Linked DNA regions of Homo sapiens: region 1 is linked to region 2. The links are contacts of gene promoters, found by promoter capture Hi-C in blood cells and fetal thymus (Javierre and others, 2016). All regions are on one chromosome and are shown on one strand. The core of a region is centred on a gene start or on the middle of the fragment in contact, and the rest is flanking DNA. Distances in the headings are between cores, read along the strand shown.

Region 1 (5,548 bases), core at 2,990-5,489, 77 kb after region 2:
GTGCAGTAGCGCAATTGTAGCTCACTACAGCCTTGAACTCCCAAGCTCAAGCGATCCTCCTGCCTCAGCTTCCTGAGTAGCTGAGACTACAGGTGCATGCCACCATGCCTGGCTAATTTTTGTTTTTTTTAAGTTCTTGCAGAGACAGGGTCTCACTGTGTTGCCCAGGTTGGTCTTGAACTCCTGGCTCTAGTGATCTCCTGCCTCAGCTTCCAAAAGTGCTAGGATTACAGGCATGAGCCACTGCGCCTGGCCTCCATATTCTTATTTGTGCTCTTTCAGCTCTGTAGATGGCATCCTGTAATTCCCTCCATAGAGGCTTCTTGGTTTTTTCCCCTAAATGAATCAAATAATTCATTATAGTTTCCAAGTATCCTCTCTACCTTCCCCAAACATATTCTCCCAGTCTTCTGGTGGCTTACTAAGATCTTACCCCAAAGAGTTCTCTTACTATATACATTGTGAACAGACTTAATTCACTTATTTTTCAGGGCCCATCTCTACTAGTTTGTCCTACAAGACACACAAATAGAGAGCTTTTGCCGGGTGCGGTGGCTCACGCCTGTAATCCCAGCACTTTGGGAGGCCGAGGCGGGCGGATCACGAGGTCAGGAGATTGAGACCATCCTGGCTACAGTGAAACCCCATCCCTACTAAAAATACAAAAAATTAGCCGGGCATGGTGGCAGGTGCGTGTAGTCCCAGCTACTCGGGAGGCTGAAGCAGGAGAGCTTGAACCAGGAGGCGGAGCTTGCAGTGAGCTGAGATCGTGCCACTGCACTCCAGCCTGGGCGACAGAGCGAGACTCCGTCTCAAAAAAAAAAAAGCTCTTATCCAGAGCTGCCTTTGAAAAATATTTTTGCTTATGACTGTAATCCTGTGGAAGCTGCAGGTCACCGAGAAGGCCCACAGGGGGCAGCACTAGGAATGACTCTTTCCCTCTAGTCCTCTATGCGCTAGGGGAGAGAGTTCTTGGAGATGTTGATGCTTTTCACCAGGCTTTAGAAGCCCCTGATTGAGGCCGGGCACGGTGGCTCACGCCTGTAATCCCAGCACTTTGGGAGGCCGAGGCAGGCAGATCATGAGGTCAGGAGTTCGAGACCAGCCTGGCCAATTTGGTGAAACCCCGTCTCTACTAAAAATACAAAAATTAGCTGGGCATGGGGGTGTGTGCCTGTAGTCCCAGCTACCCGGGAGGCTGAGGCACAAGAATCACTTGAATCCGGGAGGTGGAGGTTGTAGTGAGCGGAGTTTGCTCCACTGCACTCCAGCCTGGGTGACAGAGAGAGACTGTCGCAAAAAAAAAAAAAAAAAAAAAAAAAGAAGCCCCTGAGATCAAAGATTCATTTGCAGCAGCCTAGTTGCTTGTTCTGTGGTGTTTCACCTGTCTTGAGGACAGCATTCTTGTTTTCTTGATAATAAAAACATAAATACATGAAAATCTGTCTAAGTCACCCAATCTCCCACAAAACAATCTGCCTATACATCATTTCCAAGCACGATTAGCATTTGAGGTGAAGTTCTGTTATACACTCAGGCTGTGGCTCTCTGAAAGTCAGTGCATCACAGAACTTTGTCTCGAAAGCTTTCTAGCAGCTACCCATTTTGGGAGTGGGAGGGAAGAATAGACCTTTTAAATTCTTTCAGTGTGGCCCTAAGCTGATAAGGTCTTTCTCAACAGTCAGCATTTAATGTGTTACAAGGTCAAGCCTAGTCCATTGTCCTGGAAGCCCATTTCTCAGTAGCTGGGAGTTATTTATAAACTTGCCCTTTGCAAAAACTTAAAATGAAATTACATTATCAGTAATGACTTCTGGGGCCTTTAAACTGGCTAGTTTTATGGCATAGCCCTCCCCACTCCTGAGAGGTAAAAGCCCCAGGCTGAAGTGGAACCAGCTGCAGTCAGGAGGTGGCAGGAGAAGTAAAGAAGCTGCTGGCTCCAGCTGTAGCAGAATGGAGAATTGAAGCGGCATTTAAGCGCCTGCCTAAATTCTCAGCTTTATTTAGTATGCTTCCTCCTTTGGAAGTTTGAAATGACCAGCCTTTTCTGTAATGCCTTCTTTCCCTTTTGAGAGCTCCAGTAAGCTCTATGTCAAATCTAGTCTTTATCCTTGTCCTCCTTAGCCTGTCTTTTATTCTTCCCAGGAAGATCCAATGTTTCTATTTTTGGGGTTTCTTTGATAATGTCTTCTAGGAAGCCAGTGAAAAGAACCAAGAGCAGAACCCAGGGATATGTTCTCTCTTTGCCGGTGTGGCTGTTGTAGGCACTCACACCCTGTTGGCCACAAAGGACATTGTCTGACTCTCCCAGTTGGCTGGGGGCCATTAGGGCTTTGCTTTTCTTTGGGTTCTAGGGATGCCAAACTCTATGGCTGCAAGAACCAGTTTCCTATGCCAGGTTAATGCCCAGCTTAAACTAATGGGCAGCTCTCTAAAGTTGCTGTGAATGTGGATAGAGGAACAGAGCCAAAGATTTCCAGGAAAAGGTTGTGGGAAAAAATGATTTCGTCTAAATTTTGTTCCTTTTGGACTTCTTTTCTTCCATTAAGAAAACTCATTCCCATTGTTGTCTCCCTTTTGGAATTGAGGACCCAAGTTGTTATAGAACTGAGCCTGCTTTACAGGAAGATCTTTCTGTGAGGAATTAGGAGTTAGGAGAGCTGCTTCTACTTGTGACCTTTTAAGACTAGACTCTAGAGGACTTCCCTCCACTAGGCAACAAAGTTCTTTAGTTTGAGAGAGGAGTTACTCATGCCTTGTTTATTCCAGAGTGTTATATATACAGGATGGACATCTCTAAGGAGTGTTTATCAGAGGAGGGATAAAGTTGGTAGTAATATCACCCAAAGTGGCCACATCAGAAAATCCACTTATATGTGGAGGTCTAATTATAAGTAGTCCCTTAGATGCATACTGCGTCAAGGTATTTTAACTTTATTCTCAAACTTCCTTTATTCTCTGAATTATTCACCAAATATTGAGAGTTTAGTATGTGTCAGGCATTGTTCTGGACAAATGGGACAAACCAGCGAACAAAACAAAAATTGCAGTCCTCAAGAATTCAAGTAGGGAAAGCTTATGTTCCTCATCACCTTGTTGTCAAAAGACTGGGTTCCTTTTACTTCCATTCTGAACTGCCCTCCTCTGCCCCCGCAAACAGGGTTGATTCTTTGCATGGAACCATAAACCTCCTGAAGCCTCATGAGGCAATTTATGTTTGTAGAGGCTGCAGTTTCTGGGTTCTTGGCAATGATTTTTTCCTCCTCACTCTTGGATATCTGTCAAACACATACTTTTGTGTTTGGCTCCTGTGAGGACTGTGGGTTTCTTAAATAAGGCCAGGAAAGAGGTAGCAAAGCAACAGCCTTGTCTCAGCACAAGGGATATCAATGGTAAGTAATGTTGATTAGAAAGTCAAGGAATGTAGGTCGGGCGCAGTGGCTCACACTTGCACTTTGGGAGGCCTAGGTGGGAGGATTGTTTGAGCCTAGGAGTTCAAGACCAGCCTGAACAATACAGTGACACCTTTTCTCTTAAAAAAAAAAAAAAAAAAAAGAAAGTCAAGGAATGTGAGGCTGCAAATACCTTTCATGCACACATCACTATCTCTCCACACTTTTGGTTTTTTCTATTCAATCAATTAGAGATGGGGTTTCACTCTGTCACCCAGCCTGGAGTGCAGTGGCGCAGTCCTAGCTCAGCGTGGTCTTAAACTCCTGGGCTCAAGAGATCCTATCACCTCAGCCTCCTGAGTAGCTAGGACTATAGATGCACGCCACCACACCTGGCTAATTTTTTTTATTTTTGTAGAGATGGGGGGTCTCCCTGTGTTTCCCAGGCTGGTCTTGAACTGGCCTTAAGCAATCCTCCTGCCTCAGCCTCCTGCGATTTTCCTTCTCCTAGTTAGCTGGCTCCCTTGAAGTTGCAGTGGTAGAGGAGAGCAACAGACCACCACAGGTTTTGCAAGTGATATACTTACAGTTGAAGAAGAACCATTAAGACTGAGGCCGTGATTCCTTATTTGATTCTTGGTAGTGGAAAAAAAATTACCCTCTTGCTCACTCACTCTAGGCCCCAGAGTGTTTCTCAGATAGATCATCTTCTCACTGCTTCTTAACTCCCCCAAAATTCAGGTTGGCTTTTGTCCTTGGAAGTTAAGTGGTAGTGGTTAAGGTATAGTGGAAGAATTGGAGAACATAGGAGAGTTTTTGAAGATGGCTGTTTTACTAGGCTGCATTGAGAACTGGTGTGCCTGTGCGTGTGTGTGTGTGTGTGTGTGTGTGTGTGTGTGTGTGTGTAAACGCTCTTTTCCCTCTGCTTAGTGTGTGGGTGGTTTAGGGAAGGCTTGCTTTATGCTTCTGCATTGCTACTGCATTCGGACTGCAGAAACTTCCAAGTATACTAGGACATTCAACCCTATTTTCAAATGGCTTTGTTCAGTGCCTTTTAATTAATCTGGTCACATTCTATAGCCACCTGTACATGGGAGAGCAGGAAGGGAGAGGGTAATTTGGAAAATAACTGTACCATAATATTTGGAAATAACAGCATGACCTCTCTTGATTAAGCCCCCTGTGAGTCAGAGAAACTGTTTCTCTGATGGTACTTTGGAATCCTTTGTTTAAATGCTTTCTCTGTCAATTCAGTTTACTTACCCTGGGTCTTTCTCAATGGGAAATATCAAAATCTGACCAAGTTGAGGTAAGGGACTTACAGAGGTACCTCTGTATCCCCTTGCAGCCCCAGTGGGACTAGGGGAAGGTATCTGGTTTACCAGTGGTGATGGGAGGCTTCAGGACTGAAGGTATGTTCGTATCTCTTCAGGAACCTTCCCTGTATACTGTCAAAGCCATCCTGATTCTGGACAATGATGGAGATCGACTTTTTGCCAAGGTGAGATTCCCTTTCGAATTAGTTTAGGAACAGCACAAAGGTTTATTCTGAGATTTGAATCTTGGGACTGATACCTTATTAACTTATGTTCCTCAGTAGTATAATTTTGAGAATACTTCCATCTTTTTTTTTTGAGATGGAGTTTCGCTCTTATCACCCAGGCTGGAGTGCAATGGCGTGACCTTGGCTCACTGCAGCCTCAGCCTCCCAAGTAGCTGGGATTACAGGCACGCGCTACCACCCCCGGCTAATTTTTTGTATCTTTAGTAGAGACAGGGTTTCAGCAGGTTGGCCAGACTGGTCTCAAACTCCTGACCTCATGATTCGCCCGCCTTGGCCTCCCAAAGTGTTGGGATTACAGGTGTGAGCCACCACACCCGGCCTGAATTCTTCCATCTTATCTTGCCTACTCCAGATAAAACCTGTTTTCTTTTGTCCCTTAGTTGTACTGCTGCCCTGCTTGCTGTCCTCAGACTTTGACCTCCTTTGTTGTCAGCATCAGATCAGGGAAAAGCTTTGAAACTTTGGTTCCTAACAAAGCAGTATGTAGATGCTAAGAGGCAGTCCGCCCATGTCCATCATTCCTGTCCCCTTCCCTCATACCATGTCACCCTGCCTGGGTTTTTCCAGAGAATTGTCTTGCAGTTCCAGGTTT
Region 2 (5,733 bases), core at 1,325-3,824:
GGAAAAATAACAGGAAACAGGGGAGGGGAAGTATTTTAAAGACACTATATAACTTTCCTTCTTTGGGGGGATTACTAGAGACAAAATCCAAAGACATGAAGCACTACCAAAACAACAACCAAAAAAAAAAAAAAAAAAAACCCCTTTTAACTAAAATTAGAGGTGGAGGGCCAGGTGCAGTGGCTCATGCCTGTAATCCCAGAACTTTGGGAGGCCGGGACGGGGCAATCATTTGAGGTCACGTGCTCAAGACTAGCCTGACCAACGTGGTGAAACCCCGTCTCTACTAAAAATACAAAAAAATTAGCCAGGTGTGGTGGCAGGCGCATATAGTCCCAGCTCCTCAGGGGGCTGAGGGAGGAGAAATCGCTTGAACCCAGGAGGCAGAGGTTGCAGTGAGCCTAGATCGCACCACTGCACTCCAGCCTGGGCGACAAGAGTGAGACTGTCTCGAAAAAATAAAACAAAATGAATTTAGGTGGAAAAAAATTCCTAAGAAGCTTAAAAAAAAAAAAGAGGAGAGCAGTTCTGCCACAACCTAATGGTTGATAAATTTAAACCACTTATAGGTTGCTCTATAATGTTATAAAACAGATTTTTAAATAATTATTCATCACCTGATACATTATTAATATACAACTCTCTGTATCAGTATGTCTCAATACTTGAGAAAAGGAGTACTAGGATAAATAAAAAAGATATATAGAGACTTGAAATACTGTAAGTTTTCCATTCTTCTGGCTCTAAAGAACATTTTAGAGAGCTCCAAAACTCTACTCTGCTTTATAGATGTGGGAACTTTAAAGCCAGAAGTGGCTGCCATAGGAGAGTAAGAAAAAGGGACAATCAAAAGCAAAGAACTCAGTTGAGCCAGGAACAGTGGCTCACACCTGTAATCCCAGCACTTTGGGAAGCCGAGGCAGGTGGATTACCTGAGGTCAGGAGTTCGAGACCAGCCTGACCAACATGGTGACGCCCCATCTCTACTAAAAATGCAAAAATTAGCCAGACATAGTAGCACTTGCCTGTAATCCCAGCTACTTGGGAGGCTAAGGCAGGAGAATCGCTTGAACCTGGGAGGCAGAGGTTGCAGTGAGCCGAGACTGCGCCACTGCACTCCAGCCTGAGCAACAAGAGCGAAACCGTCTCAAAAAAAAAAAAAAAAGAACTCAGTTGAGAAGAAGCACAATGGTGACTATTACGACTGTCAAACAGAAGAAACCATAGGGTGTAAGACCAAAGTAGAAATTTTTTTCTTTTTTCTTTTTTTTTTTTGAGACGGAGTCTCGCTCTGTCACCAGGCTAGAGTGCTGTGGCGCCATCTCGGCTTACTGCAACCTCCAACTCCCTGGTTCAAGGGATTCTCCTGCCTCAGCCTCCCAAGTAGCTGGGATTACAGGCATGTGCCACCACGCCCAGCTAATTTTTGTATTTTTAGCAGAGATGGGGTTTCATCATGTTGGCCAGGATGGTCTCGATTTCCTCATCTTGTGATCCGCCCACCTGGGCCTCCCAAAGTGCTGGGATTACAGGCATGAGACACTGCACCCGGCCAGAAATTTTTTAATTACAAAAGATTTCCTCAGATTTGAATGGACCATCAGCAAACCTCCAATTAAAAACGGCATTTTTCAACTCTTACCTTTTAACTTTTCATAATTAAGGGATATAAAAACAATAACAAACATTTAAATAGGATCCTGACTCTGATTAACTTGCCATGTGTTATCCTGAGTAAATAAATTTTCCATCTAACCCCGGCATCATTTAAACGGGCTAAATAAATCTGTACTACCTGCCCTACGTACCTCCGAGGGAAAAAGTGAGTTTATGTTGAAACCAAAGATCTATTAAGTCCCCCAAAAAGAACCTTCTGTAAAAATATGTCAGGGCTGAATACAACAGCAGAAGAAAATATGTGACCTTCCAAATTCCTAAGCTAGTAAACCATATCACATGCAGTAACTCCTGCAGCTCAACACATTAGTAGATAGCAAGAAAAAGAGGAACAGTGTCTTTGTTAACTAGGCACTGGAAAACGAATAAACCTTCAGAGAACAGGGTAGGTACGTTCTCTCTCAAGGGCAAAATACTTATTCCTTAAAACTCAGACAAACTTTAAAGATGGCAGAATGAAAAGACTAATAGTAACTCTGTGAAGGAATAAGGAACAGGAGAGAATGACAGCAATACTAACATTTTGGTGAAACCTTTCAGAGAAAGAAAAGTGAATTTAATGAGGAAAGAGACAAAAATATTCTGGTGTCCACCCCTCCCCACAAAACATCAGAAAATAAAGATTGAGTTCAATTCCCTCCTTTCCACCCTTAAGAACTGCCTAAAGGGCACATGGGCCGAGGTCCTTTTCTTTTTGGGAAATGGGTTTTGTAACCACTGACAAATCGAATTGGGCCTGATGCCAGGAGTCAGAGTACAACCATAATATTCTTTAAAGGATGGCATGCAATTGTCTTGTAAATCTCCTAGACAGTCACAGATCAGAAGCTGGCAAGGATGACGACATAGTTCTGATGGAATGTGTCTTATCTTAACCTTGAAGTTACAGATCTGCTCAGGAGCAGCAGTAAGAAATGAGAAATGCACTCAGACATCGGAGGGGACATAATTCTCTTTTAGACAGTGTGACCCGGAGTATTAGGGTCAAATGAAACACAAAGCCAGTCAAACAATTTAAGGGCTAGAGCCTAGACCAGATAAAGCATCAAGACTGGTGGTTCACACTGAGCTTAGGAGGAGGGAGCTTTCCAGCATGAGAAATGAGACATGGCTGGCAGGATGATGGAGTGATTAAGATAGAATCCCAATACCATGACAGAGGAAAAGAAGATGAGCCTCTGAACACAACCTTATCCTTGTGGAAATCTCCAAGGGAAAGGGTGAGTAGCTTCTCAAATTTCTGGAGTCTTTCAGGCATAACAGCTCTCAGCCTTCTCTCTTAAATATACATAGGAACTATCTGGTAAAGCTACCAATAACTATAGATTACAGCACCTAAGGCCCATTGAGATGAGAAAAGAGGCTGGGCGCGGTGGCTCACGCCTGTAATCCCAGCACTTTGGTAGGCCGAGGCGGGCAGATCTCCTGAGGTCAGGAGTTCCAGACCAACCTGGCCAACATGGTGAAACCCTGTCTCTACTAAAAATACAAAAATTAGCCAGGTGTGGTGGCAGGCACCTGTTATCTCAGCTACTTGGGAGGCTGAGGCAGGAGAATCACTTGAACCCAGAAGATGGAGGTTGCAGTGAGCCGAGATCAAGCCATTGCACTCCAGCCTGGACAACAAGGGCAAAACTCCGTCTCAAAAAAAAACCAAACAAAAAACTTATCAGTCCTCAGCAATTACAGAGAGGGCATCACAAGCAAGCTAGGGCAACCCAGAAAAACAAGAGGTAGGCCGGCACAGCGGCTCTCGCCTGTAATCCCAGCACTTTGGGAAGCCAAGGCAGGTGGATCATGAGGTCAGGAGTTTGAGACCAGCCTGGCCAACATGGTGAAACCCCGTCTCTACTAAAGACACAAAAAAATTAGTCAGGCGTGGTGTAATCCCAGCTACTCGGGAGGCTGAGGCAGTTACGCACCTGTAATCCCAGCTACTCAGGAGGGTGAGGCAGGAGAATCGCTTAAACGGGAGGCGGAGGTTGCAGTGAGCTGAGATCGCGCCACTGCACTCCAGCCTGGGCAACAGGGTAAGACTCTATCTCAAAAAAAAAAAAAAAAAAAAAGAAAAGAAAAAAGAAAAAAAAAGGCCAGGCGCAGTGGCTCACGAGGTCAGGAGATTGAGACCATCCTGGCTAACATGGTGAAACCCTGTCTCTACTAAAAATACAAAAAATTAGCCAGATGTGGTGGCGGGAGCCTGTAGTCCCAGCTACTGGGGAGGCTGAGGCAAAAGAATGGTGTGAACCCAGGAGGCGGGGCTTGCAGTGAGCCGAGATCGCACCACTGCACTCCAGCCTGGGAGACAGCGTGAGACTCCGTCTCAAATAAAAAAGAGGTAATGGTTAGCCCTCAGCATTGACCGTTTAATGCTGGAAGAACCCACATAGGGTCCCTGGTATCTGTCTGCTTTGTCCAGTTCAGGTTCTACTCTCATCCCTCCAGTCATTTCTTTTTTGAGACAGGGCCTCGTTCTGTTGTTCAGGCTGCAGTGCAGTGGTGCGGACAGTTTATTGCAGTCTCAAACTCCTGGGCTCAAGCAATCCTCTCACCTTGGCCTTCTGAGCAGCTGGGACCACAGGGGCACGCCACCATGCCTGGCTACATTTTTTTATTTTTTGGTGAGATGCAGTCTCACTGTGTTGCCCAAGCTGGTCTCAAACTTCTGGGCTGAAGCAATCCTCCTGCCTTACCCCCACAAAGCAGTCACTACTTCTCAATACCAATTCTGGTGGCTTTTCTTATCTTGTTATAGTCATTTCATTTTCATCACCACTTATGAGCAAAAGTACACATAATTCTAGATCTTTCACTAAGCTTTCTTCTTATTAAGAATGAAAGCCAGCCGGGCGCAGTGGCTCATGCCTGTAATCCCAGCACTTTGGGAGGCCAAGGTGGGTGGATCACCTGAGGTCGGGAGTTTGAGACCAGGCTGGCCAACATGGCGAAACCCCATCTCTACTAAAAATACAAAAATTAGCCAGGTGTGGTGGCAGGTGCCTGTAATCCCAGCTACTGGGGAGGCTGAGGTAGGAGAATCGCTTGAATCTGGGAGGTAGAGGTTGCAGTGAGCCAAGATTGCGCCACTGCACTCTAGCCTGGGAGACAAGAGTGAAACTCCATCTCAAAGAAAAAAAAAAAGAAAAAGAAAGCCAATTGGTAAGCTGCCTCACTGAACTACCCACTGAATTAAAGATGGTAATCAAACCAAATGTCAAGATGCATAATCAATGAGCTCTCCATTGTAGAGTTTCAACATAAATTCTATAAGCCCCCTAACTAAGCAAAATCCTTTAGGAAGTAAGCCAGGGTTAAAGAGCAGAGGAGAGCGCATATGCAAAGCTCCCTATCACATGGATTAATTAGATATGCCATTGATGAGTGGTTGCAGTTGGCCCAGACTTGCACGATTCCCACTTCTCCTTAAGGCCCTTAGGGAGAGAGTGGCTTAGGTGAAGATTAAATTGTCAGCTACAGCACTGTCTTCAAAGCATCCTCTATATAGCCTTATTGCAGCAAATAAAACAGATGAAAATAAACCAAACTTACAGAAACATTTTAATCTGCTCTATGTTCCTTGCTCTTTATGGAGCTTGAAGTACTGATGGTTTTAGGTGTGTAACACAAACAGCATAAAACTAAAATATCCCCTATAAAGATGTTTTCTTGCAGTGGATTTATGATTTCCAAAGTATTAGCCATGTGGCATTTTAACAAAAACACAGCATAGAGATGCACATTACAGCTGTCCTGGCTGTCTCAGGTTTTGTTAAATGGGCTGATAACTATCACTCCACCTCCACCAAAAGCCCATGAGCACACAATTCAAGAGGAGTTAAAAGCTTTTTAAATGTCTGTTTAAGAGACTAGATTAGGAAAGAGTTGAAGAGAAAGATTAACTATGGTCGTTAACACCCCTATCATTAACGAGCCACATATAGACAACACAAACTTTATTAAAAGAAGAGAGCATGGAGGCAAGAAATGTTCTCCCATTGGCTAGCACAGCTCTAGTTCATGATCCTTTAAAAATCAGGCCAAGAGGCTGGGCACAAC

Evidence for each region. The method cuts DNA at HindIII sites, captures the fragments that hold promoters and counts their contacts. A CHiCAGO score of 5 or more calls a contact.
Region 1: a contact is called between a fragment that was not itself captured here and the fragment with the promoter of SCAT2 in region 2, in 3 of 17 cell types (erythroblasts, neutrophils and megakaryocytes). The highest score is 8.3, in erythroblasts.

What each region holds. Positions count from the first base shown.
Region 1 is chr12:54,335,723-54,341,270 of GRCh38, forward strand. It overlaps COPZ1 (coat protein complex I subunit zeta 1), which reads left to right. Exons shown (of 9, transcript NM_016057.3): 2 at 4,825-4,893. MIR148B (microRNA 148b) reads left to right here and starts at 1,494; the gene lies at 1,494-1,592. The HindIII fragment of the contact is 2,332 bases long and covers 3,074-5,405 here.
Region 2 is chr12:54,260,041-54,265,773 of GRCh38, forward strand. SCAT2 (S-phase cancer associated transcript 2) reads left to right here and starts at 2,575. Exons shown (of 2, transcript NR_157844.1): 1 at 2,575-2,897. All of the region lies in intron 1 of CBX5 (chromobox 5), which reads right to left. The HindIII fragment of the contact is 3,994 bases long and covers 499-4,492 here.